Linked DNA regions of Homo sapiens: all the other regions are linked to region 1. The links are contacts of gene promoters, found by promoter capture Hi-C in human tissues and cell types (Jung and others, 2019). All regions are on one chromosome and are shown on one strand. The core of a region is centred on a gene start or on the middle of the fragment in contact, and the rest is flanking DNA. Distances in the headings are between cores, read along the strand shown.

Region 1 (2,970 bases), core at 196-2,695:
CAAATTCAAAGCAGCACCAGGCCCTAGTGGCAGCTACTTCATCTTTAGGCAGCATTTCCCTCTCAACAGGGAGCATGCCACCTCCCCTGGGTGCAGATCCCAGGAAAAGTTACACTGACCAAATCAGGCCACTCCCTGGGACTGTTTCCTCAATTTTGGTTAATAATCAAAGGATGATCTGAAATCGCAAAGAAGAGACTCTTGGAAAAGACATAATTATGGTGCCACCCGACTTAGGAACTGGCATCCAAGTCCACCTGTGTGACTTTCCTCTGGGCCTCAGTTTCTCCATCTGTAAAATGAGGTCCTGTATTTATTTTTTGAGACGGAATCTCCCTCTGTCGCCCAGGCTGGAGTGAAGTGGTGTGATCTCGGCTCACTGCAACCTCTGCCTCCCAGGTTCAAGCAATTCTCTGCCTCAGCCTTCCGAGTAGCTGCTGGGATTACAGGTACCCGCCACCACACCCGGCTAATTTTTGTATTTTTAGTAGAGACGGGGTTTCACCATCTTGGCCAGGCTGGTATTAAACTCCTGACCTCGTGATCCACCCGCCTCGGCCTCCCAAAGTGCTGGGATTACAGGCGTGAGACACCGCACCCGGCCGAGGTCCTGTATTAAATGGATCCTTGCCAGCTCCTACAACATAAGGCATTAAATGTTCCCACAACTTGCTCCCCGCCGGCTGGCAGCGAACAGGGCTAAAGCCTCGACTTCCTCAGAGGTGAAAAGGTAAGCAAACATTCCGACCTCCCCTAGCCTTGCTCTCGGATTGGTGCTGGGCCCGGCTCCCACCGCCTATCCCGACCACATCCGTCATCTGGACTGCTAATACACTCATTAGCATAAAGATTCCTCCGAAGACCTGGCGCACGGGGCTGAACCGGAGTCTGTCCCTTTAAGGAAGAGGGACAGCCACTCTGTCCCTAAGGGCACTAGGCACTGCATTTCCTCCACACGGGCCACGCTGTAAACTAGACAGGTTCCGTGTTAATCCACTCTCCCTCCTCAACCCCGACAGGGGGATCCCTGGAGTGAACAACGCGCGGGGTCCCGGGGGACTGCGGAAAGGTTTGGCCTCTGCGCGTAGCAGGCTCCGCCAGGCAACCTCTCGCCCGAGGCGGCGGCGAGCTGCAAGCTAGGTGGAGCCGGCTGCGCGGCGGGACCCCAGCGCCCTGGGGCAAGACCCTGGTGCTGGCGCCAGGGCAGCCGCGGGAGGTGGCGTGTGCAGGAGCGGAGAGGTGCGCCCACCCCGGCCCCGGGCGCGAGGGGGGCGGGGCTTGGGCCGCGGCCCGGGGCCAGGCTCGCGGGGATGGGCGGTGCTGGGTCTGCGGGAGCGGGCGGGGGGCGGGGCGCGCGAGCGGGCTCCGGGGGGGCGGGGCGGCGGCGCGGGGCGGGCTCTGGCGGCCTGAGTGTCACACACGCGGCGGCTCGGGAGGCGGCGGCAGTGGCAGCGACAGGCGCCGCCGGGACGGGCACGGGCGCGCGGGCTCCGGCGGGCGCCGGCTGCCTTCCTCCGTCGCTCGCTGTCTCTCCCGGCCGCATTCTCCTCCGCTGCGGGGCCGAGCTCTCCCCAGCGCTCGCAGGAAGGAAGAAGGGAGCCGAGGACGCCGAGAAGTTCCCGCGGCAGCCGCGGATCCCGGCCAAGGCGGAGGCTGCGGCTCCGACGGGGCAGGAGCGCGATCCACGGCGAGGGGCGTACGGCCAAAGGGTCCGCGGCGTGGAGCGCTCGGACCTTCCGCTCTCCCCCGGGCGTGGGCCGGGACCCCATGAGACGCGCCCACGAGGGGCGCGAGATTCCTAGCTTGGGCGGCGCTAGGCGGAGGGAGGTGTTGCAGCCGCCGGAGCCAGAGAGCTGCCGGCAGGAGGCGGCGGCGGCAAGAACTTGAACTTGGCGTCGGGAGCGGGCGCCCCGGACGCCCCCCGCCGGGGCCGGGGCGCCGAGGGACCTGCGCCGCAGCGCTGCCCCCCGAATGGCCGCGGCGGCGGACCGGGCTCCCGCGCCGCGGCCCTAGGCGGCCTCTCGCCATGGCCAAGTGGCTAAACAAGTACTTCAGCTTGGGCAACAGCAAGACCAAGAGCCCCCCGCAGCCGCCGCGGCCAGACTACCGCGAGCAGCGGCGCCGAGGCGAGCGGCCTTCGCAGCCCCCCCAGGCCGTGCCGCAGGCCTCCTCCGCCGCCTCGGCGTCCTGCGGTCCGGCCACCGCCTCCTGCTTCTCAGCCTCTTCGGGCTCGCTGCCCGACGACAGCGGCAGCACCAGCGACCTCATCCGCGCCTACCGCGCGCAGAAGGAGCGAGACTTCGAGGACCCCTACAACGGGCCTGGCTCGTCGCTGCGCAAACTGCGCGCCATGTGCCGCCTGGACTACTGCGGCGGCAGCGGGGAGCCAGGCGGGGTCCAGCGCGCCTTCTCGGCCTCGTCCGCGTCGGGCGCCGCGGGCTGTTGCTGCGCCTCCTCGGGCGCGGGGGCCGCCGCGTCCTCGTCCTCGTCCTCCGGCTCTCCGCATCTCTACCGCAGCAGCAGCGAGCGGCGGCCCGCCACGCCGGCCGAGGTGCGCTACATCTCCCCCAAGCACCGCCTCATCAAAGTGGAGAGCGCCGCGGGCGGTGGGGCCGGGGACCCCCTGGGGGGCGCCTGCGCGGGCGGCCGCACCTGGAGCCCGACGGCCTGCGGAGGCAAGAAACTGCTCAACAAGTGCGCCGCCTCAGCCGCGGAGGAGAGCGGGGCCGGCAAGAAGGACAAGGTAAGGTGCCCCTTGGCCTCTTCCCGAGGTTCCAGAGCCACGGTGCGCACGGGGAAACCGAGGCACCCGCCGCTCTGGTGTTGAGTCTCTACTTCAGCTTCGGCCTAGGACCCTGGGTCGGGGCTGGCGTGCTGCTTCCCGCTTCTGCCTCCTCCCGCGCCCTTTTCCTGGGACCGGCGGCCTCCTGACCCCACCTCTTTCGCCGCTGCTTCCAGAACGTCCCCTCT
Region 2 (3,354 bases), core at 404-2,903, 140 kb before region 1:
AGGCAGTTTCAGAGATTCAGGCAGGAACTGAACAAATGCCCTAGGATCTCACAACCTGCTCTTTCTATCTATTCTATGTACTGGGATTTAGCCAGATTACACAAAAGGAAAGCTTATCTTTGGCCTTTTGTTCAATTCTAAGAACTCAGCCTGAGCACTTTGGTGCTTGCACCAGTGCATAAGAAGGCTTTGAAATAAACAGATATTCAATAAACTAGTGAACAAGAGTTTTCTTTATCTTGGAATAGACATCTCTGAGACAAAAACGGACCTGAGCTGCAATATTGGATAAGCCCCACTGATCACAAGAAAACCTAACATAGGTAATTGACTATTGGCAAATGCAACAGAACCAAATAAAGCAAATAATTAACAATTATTGTACTCAGAGGTAAAGGAACTACAAATCTAGGCTGCCTCGGCATTTGTCCTAGGCATCAATAAGAACAAAGTGTTTGTTAGTGGGTGAGTAACCCAGGTGTGAAATTCATTTTATTAGACCAGATCTAAAAATAGGCTTGAACCAGAGAGTGGAAAAGAACACAATTTATCCCCACTTGCTCACTGGGGCACCCAGGGAATAAATTAAAGGCGCTGTTTTTTGTTTACAAAGGGGGAATTGTGGTAGATTGTTTGCAGAAATGACCACAGTTACTTCCCTTTCTGTGTCTCTGCTACTTTGCAGATGTGACTTTGTAACTCTTCCTATCAAAAGTGGTGTCCTCAAGTCTTGAGTCTGTGACTAGTTTTGGCCAATAGAATGTGGCAGAGGTGACACTGTACTAGTTCCAAGCCCAAGCCTCAAGAGGCCTTGCACACCGCCACCTGCTTTCTTGGGACCCTTGTCTTCATGATGTGAACAAACCCAGGCTAAGCTGCCAGCGGATGAGAGTTCATGAGTCAGGCCAGTTGTCCCAGCCAAGACCTTAAACATACACAAGAGCTCAGCCCAAACTAGCAAAACCAAACTGCAGCTGCCCCACATCTAGCTACAAAAGCAAGAGGAATTCTAGCTGAGTTCAGAAAACCTGCCAGCTGAGCCCAGCCTAAACAGCCAACCTACAGAATCTTGAAGTAAATACATGGTTGTTATTTTAAGCTACTAAGTTTTAGAGTGATTTGTTACACAGCAAAAGGTAACTGATATCGGAGTATTCTGGATCAGGCCAGGTGCATTGGCTCACACCTATAATTCCAGCACTTTGGGAGGCTGAGGCAGGCAGATCACTTGAACTCAGGAGTTCAAGACTGGCCTGGGCAACATGGCCAAACCTCATCCCTACACACATACACACAAATACAAAAATTAGCCAGGCTTGGTGATGCATACCTGTGGTCCCAGCTACTTGGGAGGCTGAAGTGGGAGGATGGGTTGTGCCCGGGAGGCAGAGGTTGCAGTAAGCAGAGATTGCACCACTGCACTCCAGCCTAGGTGACAGTCAGATCTTGTCTCAAAAAAATAATAATAAAATAAAAAGGCCAGGTGCAGTGGCTCATGCCTGTAATCCCAGCACTTTGGAAGTCCAAAGCAGGCAGATCACCTGAGGTCGGGAGTTCTAGACCAGCCTGACCAACATGGAGAAACCCCATCTCTACTAAAAATACAAAATTAGCCAGGCATGGTGGCTCATGCCTGTAATCCCAGCACTTTGGAAGTCCAAAGCAGGCAGATCACCTGAGGTCGGGAGTTCTAGACCAGCCTGACCAACATGGAGAAACCCCATCTCTACTAAAAATACAAAATTAGCCAGGCATGGTGGTGCATGCCTGTAATCCCAGCTACTCAGGAGGCTGAGGCAGGAGAATCGCTTGAACCCGGGAGGCAGAGGTTGCGGTGAGCCAAGATCATGCCATTGCACTCCAGCCTCGGCAACAAGAGCGGAACTCCATCTCAAAAAAAAAAAAAAAAAAAAAAAAAAAGTTTTCTGGATCAAAACAGCTAGAAATACACCAGAAAAAATTATGACAACTGCTACCAATTACTGGGCATCTACTTACTGTATACTGAGAAACTTGTGTATCTAAAACTGTTAGGTACTTCACTTACATCACATTAACTCATCTTTGAAACCCTGCAAAATAGAGTTATTTTCACCATTTTGTAAATGAGTACATGAGGAAACTGAAGCTAGGGAGACAGTTTAAGTAACTTGCCCAAGGTCACACAGCTACTGTGTAGGTTTGCAAACATAGTCCTAGACGAGTGGGGCCTCTCAGAGGCTGAGAGAAGCCTGGGCCACTTCCAATTTTTAAGGTGCCTAACATACTGATAAATGAAGATATGAAGAAACAATTACCAAAATTGTGATATACAGTCAGTCATGCATCGCTTAACGGTGTGGGATATGTTCTGAGAAATTCATCCTTAGGTGATTTTGTTGTTGTGTGAACATCATAGAGTGTACTTACATAAACATAGATGGCAGAACTATGTGCCTAGGCTATATGGTATAGCCTATTGCGCCTAGGCTACAAACCTGTACAGCATGTGACTGTACTGAACACTGCAGGCAACTGTAACAGAGTGGTAAGTATTTGCATATCTAAACATAGAAAAGGTACAGTAAAAATACAGTATTATAATCTTGCGAGACCACCATCAAGCATGCAGTCCTTCATTGACCAAATGTTGTTATGTGGTGCATGCCTGTATTTTAAATCTTTACATTTATCAAATGAGCACTTTCAATATAAAAAAAGAAGGCAATGAGATATTGCTAATCACAAGATAATTCCAGTATGTATTTTAAAAGCATATTAATTTATAAGGTACTACAAATGGTGTGGTTCAGTAATGGGATGCAAATGTTACTTTGGTGAACATTTCCTACTTTGATCTGGTGAATGTACCTCTCTGATGGGACATATAACTTCCTTTGGAGGTGCTATAGTTCTATCTGTTTGACCCCTCAAAATCTCATGTTGCAATTTGATCCCTAGTGTTGGAGGTGGGGCCTAGTGGGAGGTGTTTGAGTTATGAGGGCAGATTCCTCATGAATGACTTGGTGCCATCCTCATGGTAATGAGTGAGTTCTTGCTGTATTAGTTTCCTGGAGAACTGGTTGTTAAAAAGAGACTGGTACCTCCTGCCCCACCATGTGATCTCTGCCCACACAGGGCAGCAGCATCTGCTTCTGGTGAGGGCTTCAGGTTTTCTCATGGCAGAAGGTAGAGGGGAGCCTGAGTGTGCAGATATCACCTGGCTAGAGAGGAAACCAGAGAGGGGGAAGGAAGCACGATGTTTCTTGTACATCCTGCAGAACCATGAGCCAAATTAACCTCTTTTTAAAATAAATTACCAAGCCTCAGGTATTCCTTTATAGCAACACAAAAATGGGTAAAGACAGGAGATAA
Region 3 (3,041 bases), core at 151-2,650, 250 kb before region 1:
CAGCCTCCCAAAGTGCTAGGATTACAGGTGTGAGCCACAGCGCCTGGCCTGCATTGACTTTTGAATCCTGGAGCTGAGACTGTCAGAGCTGACAGGTTTTGAAAAGAGCCTTACACTATTCCGATGGGGTCACGGAAGTCCAGAGAGGAGTAGGGACCTGCTCGTTGACTGGCAGCCTGGTGGTTGGCACTGGACCTGCCAGGTCAGGCGGGGGTTTAGTACTGACCCATCCTCACCATCTGCTCCTTGGAGGCCCCTGGGGGTGCAGATCACAGGGAAATAGGGTGCACATTGATCAGGACATTTTGATTCGCTAAAAAAACAGAATGGCCAGGGAATCTGAGTGCTGGCATCGAGTGTCAGCTCAGGTGCGTAATATCAGTGTTTCAGTCTCCCCATGCTTCATCCCTTTCCCTGTGCCTGTATCTTAGGCTCCAGTCCTGTACGGGAGACACATGCTATCTCCTAGACACAGGACGCTCTTCAATACCACTAAGCCTTCCACTGTGTGGCTCCTGCTGCCTGCACTGCCCTTTTCCGATGCCTACTTGTTTTAAGGTTCTGGCAAAACTCCTGCATGGACCTCTGAGCGTTTCCTTCTGGCTGCACTCCGGCTGCCGCCAGTGGAACTGACCTGCCTCAGCAGCCCCTTACCCTTCTCGAGAGATTCACAGCACCTGGGATACTTGCTTCCTCCTTTTATTCACGTGTCCCTAGAGCCTTTAGTTTGCAAGCCTCTTGGAGTGGCGACCAGGCATACCTCCATATTTGCACACCTGGATGAGGTCTGGCACACACTCAGTCCCGGAATCCAGTTTCAGCTCAGTTGTCTGACATCAGGATCTAGTTTCCTCACTCCTCATCCTCTTGCCTAAATGTGTGTTTGCTACAAGTCTGCTGAATGTGGGCTATACTTAGAATACAAAAAGGGACAAATATTTTCAGTGATATTTATGAAGGCTTTAGAAAGCATCAAATGTATGTGATTATGGAGAACGATATGGAAATAATATAACGAAAACCCTTAGAAATTTACCTTGGTTAAAAATATAATAGAGAAATGATCTTAAAGGCAATTTAACGAGTTTCTGATCTTAACTAAATGGAATGTCTTTTTCACATATTTTAAAATACATCCTATTTATTAAAATTGTAACAACTTTTTAAAAGGTCCAGATGTCTTGAACGATCCTTGAGCATGAATATTTTTGAAATGCATTAAACTTTTTTTTTCATCCAATCTGTGGGATGGAAAAAGAACACCTTTTTTTTTTTTTAATAAAGGGAGAAAGGAAAGAAGGAAGGAGAAGAGAAAGAAAGGAAGAGAGAAAGACAAGTTTGGAGGGAGGGAAGGAAAATGGAGAAGGAAGGAAGAGATGGGAAGGGAAGGAAAGGGAAGGGAGAGAACAAAAGAAGGAGGGGAAAGAGGGAGGAAAAGTCACAATACCCCTTTGGTTTCCTTCATTGTGCTGGTCATACGATGCCATTGGGGTAAATGATGCCACCTCTCTGGGTCTTGGCTCCTTCATCAAAAGCTAGAGTTGGGTGCTGTCGTGAGGGAATGCTGGGAGGGCAGATGATCATTGCATTATTTATATTTCAATTACCTTGGGCCCAGTCTTTGGCTACTGACATTTGAAGCCAAATCTCTTCCTCATTCCAAGCCTCAGTTTCCAAAATGAGGGAGTTGGACCAGATGAGAGGAAGGTCACTTTCTGCTTCCACAATCTGTGGACCAGCCTCTGGCAGGCTGATTGTAAAAAAGCAAAAAGTGCTGCAATAAACATATGTATGCATGTGTCTTTATAGTAGAATGATTTATAATCCTGGATAAAGAAAATGTGGCACATATATACCATGGAATACTATGCAGCCATAAAAAAGAATGAGTTCAGGTCCTTTGCAGGGACATGGATGAAGCTGGAAACCATCATCCTCAGCAAACTAACACAGGAACAGAAAACCAAACACCACATGTTCTCACTCATAAGTGGGAGTTGAACAACGAGAACACATGGATACCGGGAGGGGAACATCACACATCGGGGTCTGTTGGGGGTTAGAGAGCAAGGGGAGGGAGAGCATTAGGACAAATACCTAATGCATATGGGGCTTAAAACCTAGATGATGGCTTGATGGGTGCAGCAAACCACCATGGCACATGTATACCTATGTAACAAACCTGCACATTCAGCACATGTATCCCAGAACTTAAAGTAAAATAAAACTAAAAAAGAAGAAGAAAAAAGATGATGTCAGAGCCAGGAAAGTTCCAGTGCCCAGGTTTGAAAGGAGACATCTCCCTCTTTCTCACGGTTTCCCCACTGTGTAGAGCCAGACAATTCAGCCAGCTGCCGGGGACCTCCAATGAGTCCCTCCACATTTCAGATCCTTTTGTCCTTTGTGCCTGGAAGTCGGTCAGCTCACTCTGACCTTCTGCCTGTCCCTCATCTGTCAGAGCAGCTGTTGGAAAGTGAAGCAGTTGGATCTAGACAACAGGGGAAGAGTTGTTTGCTTTCGTGCTGGGGAACGAAGAAACCCACACAGCTCCTTTTGTGGGTTGTATTAAAATGCATCTGCAGGCGTTATTATTCCTAATTATAAGTAGCTTAATAATGTCTCTGAAGCAGAGGGTATATGGAGATGGCCAGGAGTCTTGAATTCGTATTGTAGCTCAGCTGGAAAAGGGAAGGATGCTTTGGCATAAATACATGGGTGTTCAAATTGATGGCTCAGGGGTCCAGGATTTATAGAGCCAAGCTTTGGGAATGGTTGTGGGTGGCACCCACTTTCACTGTGTCCATGGCTGAGTAACACCCTTGGCCTTTCCACAGGGCGTCTGCTCAGCAACACCTTCCCCGTCCTGGGCATTCAGTTTTGTGAGGCAGTTTTTTATTTTTATTAAAATTTTTTTTTTTTGCAACAGAGTCTCTCTCACTGTTGCAACACTGTCACTCTCTCATGCAGTGGCACAATCTCGGCTCACTGCAGCCTCTGCCTCCCGGGTTCAAGTGATTCTCCTGCCTCAGCCTCCCAAGTAG

What was found. Contacts are between HindIII fragments. The study calls those that stand out against the background at their distance.
Region 2: a contact is called between a fragment that was not itself captured here and the fragment with the promoter of SHB in region 1, in 2 of the 25 tissues and cell types used here (bladder and lymphoblastoid cells).
Region 3: a fragment that was not itself captured here is called in contact with the fragment with the promoter of SHB in region 1 in 1 of the 25 tissues and cell types used here (lymphoblastoid cells).

The regions. Positions count from the first base shown.
Region 1 is chr9:38,067,702-38,070,671 of GRCh38, reverse strand. It overlaps SHB (SH2 domain containing adaptor protein B), which reads left to right and starts at 1,445. Exons shown (of 6, transcript NM_003028.3): 1 at 1,445-2,743. The coding sequence starts at 2,027. RefSeq lists silencers at 1,035-1,844, 2,265-2,314 and an enhancer at 2,205-2,970. The HindIII fragment of the contact is 6,868 bases long and covers 1-2,970 here.
Region 2 is chr9:38,205,123-38,208,476 of GRCh38, reverse strand. All of the region lies in intron 1 of LOC107987064 (a long non-coding RNA gene), which reads left to right. Among named protein-coding and RNA genes, the nearest start is that of SHB, 140 kb to the right of the region's middle. The HindIII fragment of the contact is 5,159 bases long and covers 1-3,354 here.
Region 3 is chr9:38,313,008-38,316,048 of GRCh38, reverse strand. No RefSeq gene overlaps it. Among named protein-coding and RNA genes, the nearest start is that of ALDH1B1, 78 kb to the left of the region's middle. The HindIII fragment of the contact is 4,682 bases long and covers 1-3,041 here.